Linked DNA regions of Homo sapiens: all the other regions are linked to region 1. Evidence: promoter capture Hi-C in human tissues and cell types (Jung and others, 2019). All regions are on one chromosome and are shown on one strand. Each heading gives the region's core, a stretch centred on a gene start or on the middle of the fragment in contact. The rest is flanking DNA. Distances are from core to core; before and after follow the strand shown.

Evidence for each region. The method cuts DNA at HindIII sites, captures the fragments that hold promoters and counts their contacts. A contact is called where the count stands out against the background at its distance.
Region 2: a fragment that was not itself captured here is called in contact with the fragment with the promoter of PYGL in region 1 in 1 of the 25 tissues and cell types used here (aorta).
Region 3: a contact is called between a fragment that was not itself captured here and the fragment with the promoter of PYGL in region 1, in 2 of the 25 tissues and cell types used here (pancreas and psoas muscle).

The regions. Positions count from the first base shown.
Region 1 is chr14:50,942,719-50,946,607 of GRCh38, reverse strand. It overlaps PYGL (glycogen phosphorylase L), which reads left to right and starts at 2,125. Exons shown (of 20, transcript NM_002863.5): 1 at 2,125-2,447. The coding sequence starts at 2,205. It overlaps LOC400212 (a long non-coding RNA gene), which reads left to right. Exons shown (of 4, transcript NR_170195.1): 4 at 144-318. RefSeq lists a silencer at 1,946-2,105 and an enhancer at 2,774-3,297. The HindIII fragment of the contact is 9,372 bases long and covers 1-3,889 here.
Region 2 is chr14:50,899,440-50,903,328 of GRCh38, reverse strand. It overlaps ABHD12B (abhydrolase domain containing 12B), which reads right to left. Exons shown (of 13, transcript NM_001206673.2): 10 at 1,418-1,500. Among named protein-coding and RNA genes, the nearest start is that of ABHD12B, 29 kb to the right of the region's middle. The HindIII fragment of the contact is 6,626 bases long and covers 1-3,889 here.
Region 3 is chr14:50,991,812-50,995,700 of GRCh38, reverse strand. The region is part of intron 7 of TRIM9 (tripartite motif containing 9); the gene reads left to right. Among named protein-coding and RNA genes, the nearest start is that of PYGL, 49 kb to the right of the region's middle. The HindIII fragment of the contact is 8,014 bases long and covers 1-3,889 here.

The DNA of each region.
Region 1 (3,889 bases), core at 876-3,375:
TCAAATTTCACCCCACAGGCCTTACTTATTTTTAAGATCAATGATTTTGATGGGCCCCCCCTTCCCACTCTTAATTCAGGGTATTTCTGGCCCCATCCGGATCCAAACTCTAATGCTCATCTCTTCCATACTGTCCTTTGCAGGTCATCGGTATTGCAAGAGTTGCATAAGGCCCAATTCAGTCTCTGCCCCAAAAGCTCAAGTCCAAACTTCAGAATCTGGGAGGACAAGGATTCAGGAAATTTTGTCAGAACTATGAGCTTTGAACTTTCACTTTTATGGTGAGGGTCACATTTGGTCTGAATCAATTAATCCATTACCCGCCCCCCCCCCCCCCCCCACCACCACCATGTGTGAATTCAAAATAATCAACTTGGGTTTATTATAAAAAACAAAATATATTAATATAAGTATACTAAGATTTTTCTAGAAAACTTGGCCGGGCGCGGTGGCTCACGCCTGTAATCCCAGCACTTTGGGAGACCGAGGAGGGCGGATCACAAGGTCAGGAGATCGAGACCATCCTGGCTAACACGGTGAAACCCCATCTGTACTAAAAATACAAAAAATTAGCCGGGCGTGGTGGCGGGCGCCTGTAGTCCCAGCTACTCGGGAGGCTGAGGCGGGAGAATGGCGTGAACCCGGGAGGCGGAGCTTGCAGTGAGCCCAGATCGCGCCACTGCACTCTGCCTGGGTAACAGAGTGAGACCCTGTCTCAAAAAACAACAAACAAATAAACTTAGAAGAATATATGTGACTATTGGCCGGGCGCGGTGGCTCACGCCTGTAATCCCAGCCCTTTGGGAGGCCGAGGCGGGCAGATCACGAGGTCAGGAGATAGAGACCATCCTGGCTAACATGGTGAAACCCTGTCTCTACTAAAAATAAAAAAATAAAAAATAAAAAATGCGAGGTGGCGGGCGCCTGTAGTCCCAGCTATTCAGGAGGCTGAAGCAGGAGAATGGCGTGAACCCGGGAGGCGGAGCTTGCAGTGAGCCGAGATCGCGCCACTGCACTCCAGCCTGGGCAACAGAGTGAGACTCCGTCTCAAAAAAAAAAAAAAAAGAAGAAGAAGAAAGAAAAAGAAAAGAAAAAGGAAAAAGAAAACTTAATTCTGGCAATGGACTGTTTCTAAAATAATATATTAATACTACTTAATGAGGAAGAAAAAACCTCTGACATCCTAAAATGCCAAGTGTTTGCCTTTACCAAGGTTTAAGCACACATAAACACGCATATTCAAATACCACCCAAAGTGGAGGTGCAAAGATCAGCCTGTACCGCACAGTAACACAGACTGGGTTGTTTTTTGTAAAGAAGGCAACTAGTCCAGTGAGTAATCCCTTCATTTTCCACACACATACCCTTCTGTTTTCTCCCTCTCCTCCCCCCACACCCTCCACTGCAGTTAAAACGTAATTCGAAGAAGCCTAAGGTAAAAGCCCCTGCCGCATAATGACCCTAGAGCTTCACCTCACCTACTCTGATTCTTAGTAACCTACCTCTAAGGATGAGAGACAGGGTGCTACGAGCGGGGCGAACTTTGGTCCAGGAGTTAAGAAACCTGAACCCTGGAGTCCTCAAAAAAAATGAATGAAAATAACAGAGGCGCCCTGAGGATCCAAGCTGGGGCGGTGCCAAGGGCTGGCAAGTGAGGTTGGGACAACAGAAGTCAAACGTGCCGTCCTTCCAGATCCCGGCGCTTATGGCGGAAGCCACTCCAGGTGAGAAATCCTAACAGTCATAATGGCATAACAAATAAACATCGGCAAAACAGCAGTCTGCCAACGACGTGCTTCCCTACACAGACGTCCTCCTGTCTCCACACTCTAGAGGGGAGAGGCGGAACAAATGCTGCCTCCGCAGATTTTGGAAATCCGGAAGGGAGCCTCCGAGCCCAGGTCCCGGGCTGGCAGGGGTCTCGCCGGCGCTTGGACCTCGTCTCCCACCCCCGAGCCCACTGCGGCCCCAGAGCCTCGGGAGGGGCCGGGCACTTCCTCTGCCCTCCGGCCTGGGGCAGGGGCCGGGACGCGGTGGGAGTGCAGCGGGGACGGCACCGCCCGAGGGGGCGGGCCCCAAACTTTCGTGCGCGTTGAAAGCTGCTGGCGCGGCGGGGCGGACTCCACCCCTGCCCGGCAGCCCAGCGCCTCCGGCCGCACTTCCAGCTCTCTGCGCAGCCCGCCGCGCAGCCCGCCGCCCCAGCCATGGCGAAGCCCCTGACGGACCAGGAGAAGCGGCGGCAGATCAGCATCCGCGGCATCGTGGGCGTGGAGAACGTGGCAGAGCTGAAGAAGAGTTTCAACCGGCACCTGCACTTCACGCTGGTCAAGGACCGCAACGTGGCCACCACCCGCGACTACTACTTCGCGCTGGCGCACACGGTGCGCGACCACCTGGTGGGGCGCTGGATCCGCACGCAGCAGCACTACTACGACAAGTGCCCCAAGGTAACCGGGGGCGGGACGGCGGGCCGGGGTCCAGCCCGGAGTCGGAGTCTCCGGCCGCGGCCGGGCGGGACGAGGTGGAGAACCCCTCAGAGTGGTCCCTTGCACCCGGTCCTTGCCCCGAAGTCCAGAGGAGACGTGTCTAGGCTGTGGGCGGGCAGCCTGGGGGACAGATTAGGCCTCCCAACAGACGCCGAACTCATGTCTCCGAGGTGCCACCCGCCAGTGTCCCGCCCAAACCACTGTGCCGTCCGCCCCTGGAAACCGCCAGGTGGGCAAAAGCCCAGGCCCCTCTCGCCTGTCCACTTCACAAACTTTTTTGGAACTTTGACTCTCAGCATTTAATCAAGAGGTGACGGGGGCCTCTTGTCCTGTATGCCGGACACTATTCTCTGCCCTGGACACTCAGCCCTAAACAAAAGGGACAAAAATCTTGCCTTGCTGGAGCTTGGTATTTTGGGAGGGGAGACAAACGCCGAGCTGGGAAAAGGTCGTAAGTCTCAGGCCTCTGGGAGTGGCTAAGTGTGGTGCAGAGGAGGGGCAGGGTCCCGCTCCAAGCGTAGAGCGCCGCCCACCCATTCTCCTGAGTGGGTGTAGCTCCTGGAATTCCGTGAGTCTTTCGCAAAGGCGGCCCAGGGCCAGGCAATGCCCTGGACTCGTCCTCCCCGAAGACACACACTCCCCCGACCCTTAGCCCTTCCACACCCGAGGCCTGCCCCCAGAGCTGCTGAGGAAGGCTGGTCAGGGACCACCTCCATCCACGGCGTGGGGGCGGGAGCAGAGACCTCCTTAGGGTGATTTTGGACCTACAGAGGGACAATATCTCTGCCTGACAGTTTGCGAAGAGGGCGAGAGGCAGTGGGGAAGGACTGGGGAGGACATGGCAGGGAGAGGGATTGTGTGCAGGCTGGAGTGAGGGCGGGTGTGAGTCTGTATTGGGAGAGGAAACTGGAGAAGCCAGGTAGAGACATATTGGAAAGAATAAAAGATTGGGATACATCCCAGGGGCAGTGGGAAATATATATAAACATTTATTAGAACTTTTTAATTATGTAAAGGTGTGAAGAAAAAAAAATGGTCTATAATCCCAGTGCCCAAGAAACCCCATAGGAATTTTTAAGAAAGGAAATGAATGTAAATTCTCATAGTAAGAAATTGCAACTGTAACAGTTTTCAAATGGAAAGTAACTCTTCTTCACCCCAAAGACCTAGGCCTCCACCAAGGTAGCAACTGCTAAAATGTATCCTTAAAAATTTAAATGCACCTTAGAAAACACTTTATGTATACATATATTTACTGTTTTGTTGTTTTGTTTTGTTTTGTTTTGTTTTGTTTTGTTTGAGACAGAGTCTCACTCTCGCCCAGGCTGAATGAAGTGCAGCGGCGCCATCTTGGCTCACTGCATCCTTCGCCTCCAGGGTTGAAGCGATTCTCCTGCCTCAGA
Region 2 (3,889 bases), core at 544-3,043, 43 kb after region 1:
TCTAAGTTAAAGCTTTAGCAAAACATGAGGCCTGTCTAAATTACAAGAAATTTCTTTCCTTCCTTCCAAGGAATAACAATATCATACATTTAAAAATTTCACATAGTAGCTTTTTTTCTCCATGCAAGTTTCCCTCTCTCCCATTTACTCATGCAATTTAACTGGCTGTTTAATTAATTTACTTCTGCATGATTTTTGGAAATACTAAAAAAAAAAAACAAAAAACACTGAAACACTGATTTTGTACAGTGTTAGAAGAACCTTATATTCTTCTTTACTCCACCTATTTTGTAACATCTGAAATATTTTATTAAAAGACTAAAAAAGAAAACAAAACTCAAAACCTCAATAAAACAAAAACTATGACAGAATCAGAGACCTCTTTGTAGCAATTTGTTTACTTTTCTCCATAAATGTAGAGGATGGACGTGCAGTTAACAGGTCTGATTAGCTTCCTGGTCAACCCCCTAGTTTGCTAATTCAAAAGGGCTATGGCATGAAGAATGTCTTGTCTCCCACTCTAGTTACTTTCTCAAGCAATGCTTCCCTGTCCCCCCAAAATTCTGATACCCATCCATCTCTGCCACAGTGACTCACTGACACCCCTGAGAATGTTGGATTTTCTCAAGTGTGTTGACATAGAAAAATATATTGACAACTGTCTATTTGGAAGCATTCTTAAATTCTCTAACTGTAACAGGCTAACTTGATAAATTCTAGTCATTGGATTTGCTGTCACATTAGTAAGGTGGATGGTAGACGAGTTTTCATTATATGGGGAAAAGGGCCTAGAAGTCAGAGATGCCTCAAGAAATGTTAGGCTGGTTTTTTGTTTGTTTGTTTGTTTTACAGGATGTCACTCTGTCACACAGGCTGGAGTGCAGTGGCACAATCACAGTTGACTGCAACCTCAACCTCCCAGGCTCAAGTGATCCTCCTACTTCAGCCTCACGTGTAGTTGGGATGACAGGCACGTGCCCCCACGCCTGGCTAATTTTAAAATTTTTTGGTAGAGATGGTGTCTCCCTGTGTTGCCCGGGCTGGTTTCAAACTTCTGGGCTCAAGCTATCCTCTCACTTCAGCCTCCCAAAGTGCTAGGATTATAGGCATACGCTAACACTACCAAGCCCTTTAAAAGGTCTTGATAGGCTATAGATATACAACTTCGTTTATGAATTCAGAGAGAGTACTGAATTGGTGAAGTCATTGAATTAGACATGAGGAAAATAGCAAATACTAAAAATTCATAGATACTTTACCCAAATCTTAGTGCCCATCTAAGAAGCGCAGAACAATATTCTAAGAATAAGAATGATATTCAGGATGTCTCATGTCACCATCCAGTAAGTCACATGATAGTTGCCCCTAGAATCCTTTAGATACAGTAATAATGCATGTCTTTTCATCATTAACTTACTTTTCATCATTAGGAAAGATTATTTTGTCTTTTCTCAGGGCATCCATAAGTGTACGTAAAAATCCTGGAATGTTCCGGTAAATCTATTTTTAAAAAAGAAAAAAAAATTAATATTTGCCCCATAGCTATGCCATCTGTTATATAGTCTTTCACTATGAACCAGGGTAACACAGAGAGTAGTGCTTCTCTAAGTAAGGTAAACTTCACAAAAAACTTCTACGATTTAAAAAGTAATGCACGTCGGGAATTTGGAAAAAAAGAAAGGAATGTAGAAGAAACAAAGCACACATAATTCTGCCATCATAGACCATCATTGTTAACATTTTGTTTTCACTTCCTAAAAATGGCACAACTAACTCTTACTTCTCCATGTAGAAGCAGTGGTATGCAAAACCTAAAATTGCTTCTATTGTGAACATAACTGGTTTAGTTGGTGGACAGAATATTCTGATTAGTCAAAAATTCTGATGAAAATATACAATACATAGAAAATTGATTTTAGAGAATTTGAACATTACAAACTTTTGAATATGATTTAATATGCCAATGCCTTAAAAGACATTTTAGTTTTTAACAATGACCACAGGATTCCAGATATAACAATGCTCACTCTAGACATACTAAATTTGTTGTTTAATAGCAAAATCCAAGAAATAGAATGCTAGCTAAATCCACTTTTACAATGTTTTGACTCACATAGTCAACATGTAAGTTAGTTTATATGCCCTAGAAATATCCGTTTTATCTGGAAATAAGGAGTAAAGGATAAAAATCCTGAGCAATATTGCACCTTTCTCACAAACTTTGAATCCTGCCTCCAAAACTATATCCTAAACCCATTCATTTCTCCCCATCCCCACTATCACTTAGCCTAAGCCACCCTTCATCTCTTGCTTATACTAAGCTGCAATTCCAAGTGGCTCCCCGATTCTGCCTTCACCCTTCCATAATCCAGTTCCCACAGGAAAACCAGAATGATTATTTTAACGTGCAAATCAGATCGTAGCACTCTTTCGCTTAACACCCTCCAAAGGCAATTGGATTAAACCTGAACATGTCACCTTGGCCTCCAAGGCCCTGAAGAATCCGGCGGCTTCCTGCCTCCCTCTCCAGCCTCATCTCCTATCACTAAGCACCTTCCTGTCCACCTCCTGGCTCTGCTGCCTTCTGCTTCTGGAACATGTCAGGCCTGATCCCACCTCAAGGCGCTTGCCTTTACTTTTACCCCAGCCTGAGATCTCTATATTTTCCCATCAGCTGGCTTCATCTCAGGCAGGTCTCAGCTCAGATGCTATTTCTTCGGAGCTGTTTTCCATAACCAGCTACCAAACCTTGCCCCCACCACCCAGTCATTCTCCATCACATTATTTTGGTGCTTTCACAGAACTTCTCACTATTGGATTTCTTTTTTAATGTATTTATCTTCTATCTGTTTCTCCATCAACAATATGAACTTCGTAGGTAAATGGACCACAACTTTCTTATTCCCTGTGGTGTCCTCAAAAACTAGAAAAGTTCCTGGTACATAATAGACACTTCATAAATATTTGCTAAAGACAAAATGAGTCTATTGTGCAAATATCCCTGGCGTACACTTTGTTATTATCTGTCATTTTCATTTAGTATGATTGAATTTCAGATATTACTTATTTTATTTATTTGTTTGTTTATTTTGAGACAGGGTCTCAGTCTGTTGCCTAGACTGGGAGTGGGTGCAGTGGCATGCTCATGGCTCACTGCAGCGCTCAAACTCCTGGGCTCAAGCAGTCCTCCCTCCTCAGCCTCCATAGTAGCTGGGACTACAGGGGTGTGCCACCACACCCAACTAATTTTTTTGTACAGAAGGGGTTTCACCATGTTTCCTAGACTGGTCTTGAACTCCTGGGCTCAAAGCCATCTTCTGGCCTTGACCACCCAAAGGGCTGGGATTACAGGCATGAGCCACAGTGCCTGGCCCAGATTTAAATTTTTTTTTTCTTTTTTTTTTTTTTAGACAGAGTCTCACTCTGTTGCCTAGGCTGGAGTGCAGTGGTGCAATCTTGGCTCACTGCAACGTCTGCCTCCTGGGTTCAAGCAATTCTCCTGCCTCAGCCACCCAAGTAGCTGGGACTACAGGCATGCATCACCACGCCCAGGTAATTTTGTATTTTTAGTAGAGATGGTGTTTCGCCATGTTGGCTAGGCTGGTCTCGAACTCTGACCTCAAATGATCCGCCTGCCTCAGCCTCCCAAAGTGCTGGGATTACAAATCTTTGCAATAAATTTGCAAAGAGGAAAAATAAGCAAAGTATTATACATTTTCGTGTTGTGCCTGAGAGAGGAGGGGTAGAGGGGGTAGTAAATGGGACATGGCCAAGAGAAGGAAATAGGCACAGAATAGGGAGGTTGGACCCAATAAATACAAACTTCTGCTTCACAATTTTTTAAAAAGAAAAAGAAATTAAAACTTGCCCCATGGCTATAATGTCATTT
Region 3 (3,889 bases), core at 494-2,993, 49 kb before region 1:
TAGCAAGAGTTAATCCCTTTTCAAACTTCAAAACAAAAATTCTGTATCACAGAAAGGTAAAATTTCATATGCGGTAACAAGTCTAACTTGTAATCACATGCATTTAGTCTGAGGTTTAAATTGCTCATCTTTTGTACTCTGTGAGCTTTCACAAAACCTTTTGCTGATCTAAAGGTAACGTTATGCAGGGGAGATCAAATGTCTACATTACTATAAATTTTGATTGGTTTTTTCTTCGAAAGCAAATTTATCTGTCTATTTATTGGGCAGTGCTTGATAAGTGACCACTGTGTGCTAGGCTGTGGGTATAGAGTGTTGAACAGACGTTATCCCTACTGTCCTGGAGTTTACAAGCTAGAAAAGGAAACAAGCCTTAGAGAAATAAACATATAAATAGTTCCATTTTTACACATTGTGATAAACACTGAAAAACAGGGAAAAGGGATTAGCAGGAAGATAAAATTTTTATAGGAGAATTAGGAAAGCAATAAAAATTAATTAAATTCAATGGAAATTATAAAGAACATGCTATTAAGAGAAAAGGAAAGGAGTCAGGTGCCGTAGCTCATGCCTGTAATCCCAGATACTTGGGAGGTTGAGACGGGAGGATCCTGTGAGCCCAGGAGTTTGAATCCTGCCTGGGCAACATAGTGAGACCCCATCTTAAAAAAAAGAGACAGAGAAAAGGAAAGGAGAATGCATTATTATATGAGTCCAAGTGTGGATAGTTCTCTGAAAGCAAAGTTCCTGGAGATGTATCAAAGACACCCATGGAAAAAACGCCAGTTGCACATCTAAACCAAATTACACTGACTTAAGATGAAATATAACTGTAAGCAATTAAGAATTTTAATGAAATTTTCAAATAAGGCCCCCAAGCCCCAAAACTTGGTCATGGGTATCTTTAAATTAATTCATCTAATAGCCATCATGGCTGTGCCAGTCTTTGAAACCATCTGCAAAAGAGTATCTGTTGAAAACATTACACAGCAAGGCCATCTTAATACACAGAGTTCTAAGGTTTATGCTATGTGTGAGACAAGCTGTACTCCTGTTTTAAAAAATCATACAGGGCTGAGAACAGGATAGGACATTTTCTGTTTATTTTTCTCTAGTTTCCCTCTTCCTATCTAAGTAGATTCTGCCTACAAAGTCTATTTAGGTAGGGGCTAGACATCTGACTTTGTAGGACAAAGTCTATCTATTTAGTCTATTTAGATAGACTTTGTGGCTACAAAGCCAGACATGTAGCATCTTCCAATCTCTTTCTGACCTTTCTACCTTCCTTTTTTTTGAGACAAGGTCACACTCTGTCACCCAGGCTGCAGTGCAGTGGCACAATCATAGCTCACTGCAGCCTCCTACACCTGGGCTCAAGGAATCCTCCCACCTCAGCCTCCTGAGTAGTTAGGACTACAGGCATGTGCCACCATGTCTGGCTAATTTTTTAAATTTTTTGTAGAGATGTGGTCTTGCTGTGTTGCCCAGGTTTGTCTCAAACTCCTGGCCTCAAGTGATCCTCCTCCCTTGGCCTCCCAAAGTACTGGGATGACAGGCATGAGCCACCATGTAGCCCCTACCTGCCTTTGATAAGGATCCTTGTGATTACCTTGAGCCCACCTGGATAATCCAGTATAATCCCCCCATCTCAAGATCCTTAATGTAATCACCTCTGCAGTGTCCCTTTTGCCATGGATAATAACATATTCACAGGTTCTGGGGATTCAGATGTGGACATTTTTAGATGGCCCATTATTCTTAGTACTATACTTTATGAGGAAGGTATTATTATTGTCATCTTTCTCTACTTATGGGAAACTGAGCTGCTGAGAGGTTAAGTATAATAATATGTCAGATCCAGGACTTTAAGCCGCCAATGCTCAGCACAGTCCGCTGTGGTGCTAACATTAGAAAAGTGCTATTTGCCCTCAACCAAATGGAAAGAAAGAGAGGGAAAACTATCCAAAGTCTGTCTGCAAGGTGACTGAAAACACCTTGTCAAAATGAAGCAGCGCTGTGTAGCTGCCTCATATGCTCATCCAGAAATCCCAGCCAGAAGGAGGACTTTACTACTTGCAGTCATGTTGGGCAGATCTCCTGAGGTCAAGAGTTCGAGACCAGCCTGACCAACATGGAGAAACCCTGTCTCTACTAAAAATACAAAATTAGCTGGGTGTGGTGGCGGGCGCCTGTAATCCCAGCTACTTGGGAGGCTGAGGCAGGAGAATCACTTGAACCTGGGAGGCAGAGGTTGCGGTGAGCTGAGATTGCACCATTCCACTCCAGCCTGGGCAACAAAAGTGAAACTCCATCTCAAAAAAAAAAAAAAGAGTCTTGTTGAAAAGAGTAGCGTTCCAGCTTTAAGAAGATGTGGGAGTGGCCATCATTTCCAGCATAATATCCAAACTCTTTATCAGGTCCTGTGCTCATTTTCATGTCTTTGCAGAAATTTCCTCCAGCTCCCTCCCATCCCAGGTGAGCAGGTCACCTAGAGAGGCCCTTCCCCCACTGGTACCAGTGGATACTCTTGGCTGGCAGTGACGAGATTTGCCCGGGAAGGAAAAGGAATATCAGAGCTACATCTCTGAGGCTCTGATACTACCAAATGAAAGTTACTACCAAATGAGGTCTGGCACTCAGAGCCCTGCTTGGGTTGACATCACAGAGCCATTTATTCACAGAAGCTTTCCAGCCCTGCCTGTCCTAACTGGGAGGGAAAATGGGGAGAAGGTAGTCAGTGATAATTAGAGAAAAGAGGGCTGGCTCTCAAGCCATCTACCCAGCATTTTTCAGGATTGTTTTATCTAATGACAAATAGGTTGGGATTCTTGAAACTACATCTTAAAAACTGCTTTCTAAAAAGTGGGCCTAGACAATGTTACTCATAAAGATTAAAATGTCTTTCTCCCCGATTAGACTCTCAGCATCACGCTGCCCCTTTCATTGTAGTAGCTCCTTCTTCTGTGCATTGAAGGAAACCACCCAGAAAAGATGTAATGGTGCAGACAAAATATAAACTTATGCTTCCATTTGTCTGAATGCAAATTGGCCTCAGATGCATCTGTCCAGAATCTTTTTGCAATTACTTATTTATTTATTCATTCATTCATTCATTCATTTATCTTTCCAGAGACAGAGTCTCACTCTGTCACCTAGCTGGAGTGCAGTGTCACGATCGTGGCTCACTGTAACCTTGACCTCCTGGGCTCAAGTGATCCTCCTGCCTCAGCCTCCCTAGTAACTGGCTCTATAGGCATGCCACCACACCTGGCTTTTTTTTTTTTCCGTAGAGACAGGGTCTCACTATGTTGCCCAGCCCGGTCTCAAACTCCCGGCCTCAAGCGATCCTCATGCCTTGACCTCCCAAAGTGCTGGGATTACAGGCATGAGCCACCGTGCCCAGCTCCTTTGCTCATATTTAATAGTGATTTTGGTCCAGCATAAGTACTGCACCCTGATGTGCTGAGACCTCCAGAAATGCTGTCACCTTGTGAGGAACAAAGAACCTGTCAGAAGAACAACTACAGGGAACACCTCAGCCCATCTAATCCCTCTAGCCAAAATTCCAAGGAGGACAGTGATGTGTGTGCCTTTCCAATCCCTAACCACTACATAAACTAAACACTCTATTTAAAGAAGAAAAGATGTATCCTTAACACAGTTAGGGTTTATTAGGTCCTCTACACAAACCTTGGTCCCCACTGAGACCACTGAAATGTGCCCTGGGGCCAGTGGCATAAGCTTTACCTTTTGTATATTTCTAGGTTACAAAGGAGCAGCAATAGTCTTGTCACCCCAAAATTTTATCCTCCAGGAATTGATCCTACCTGAGTCTCTATTGTATCCCTCCACAGCTGTGGTGTAACTTGGATATGTCCCTTAGCCTCTC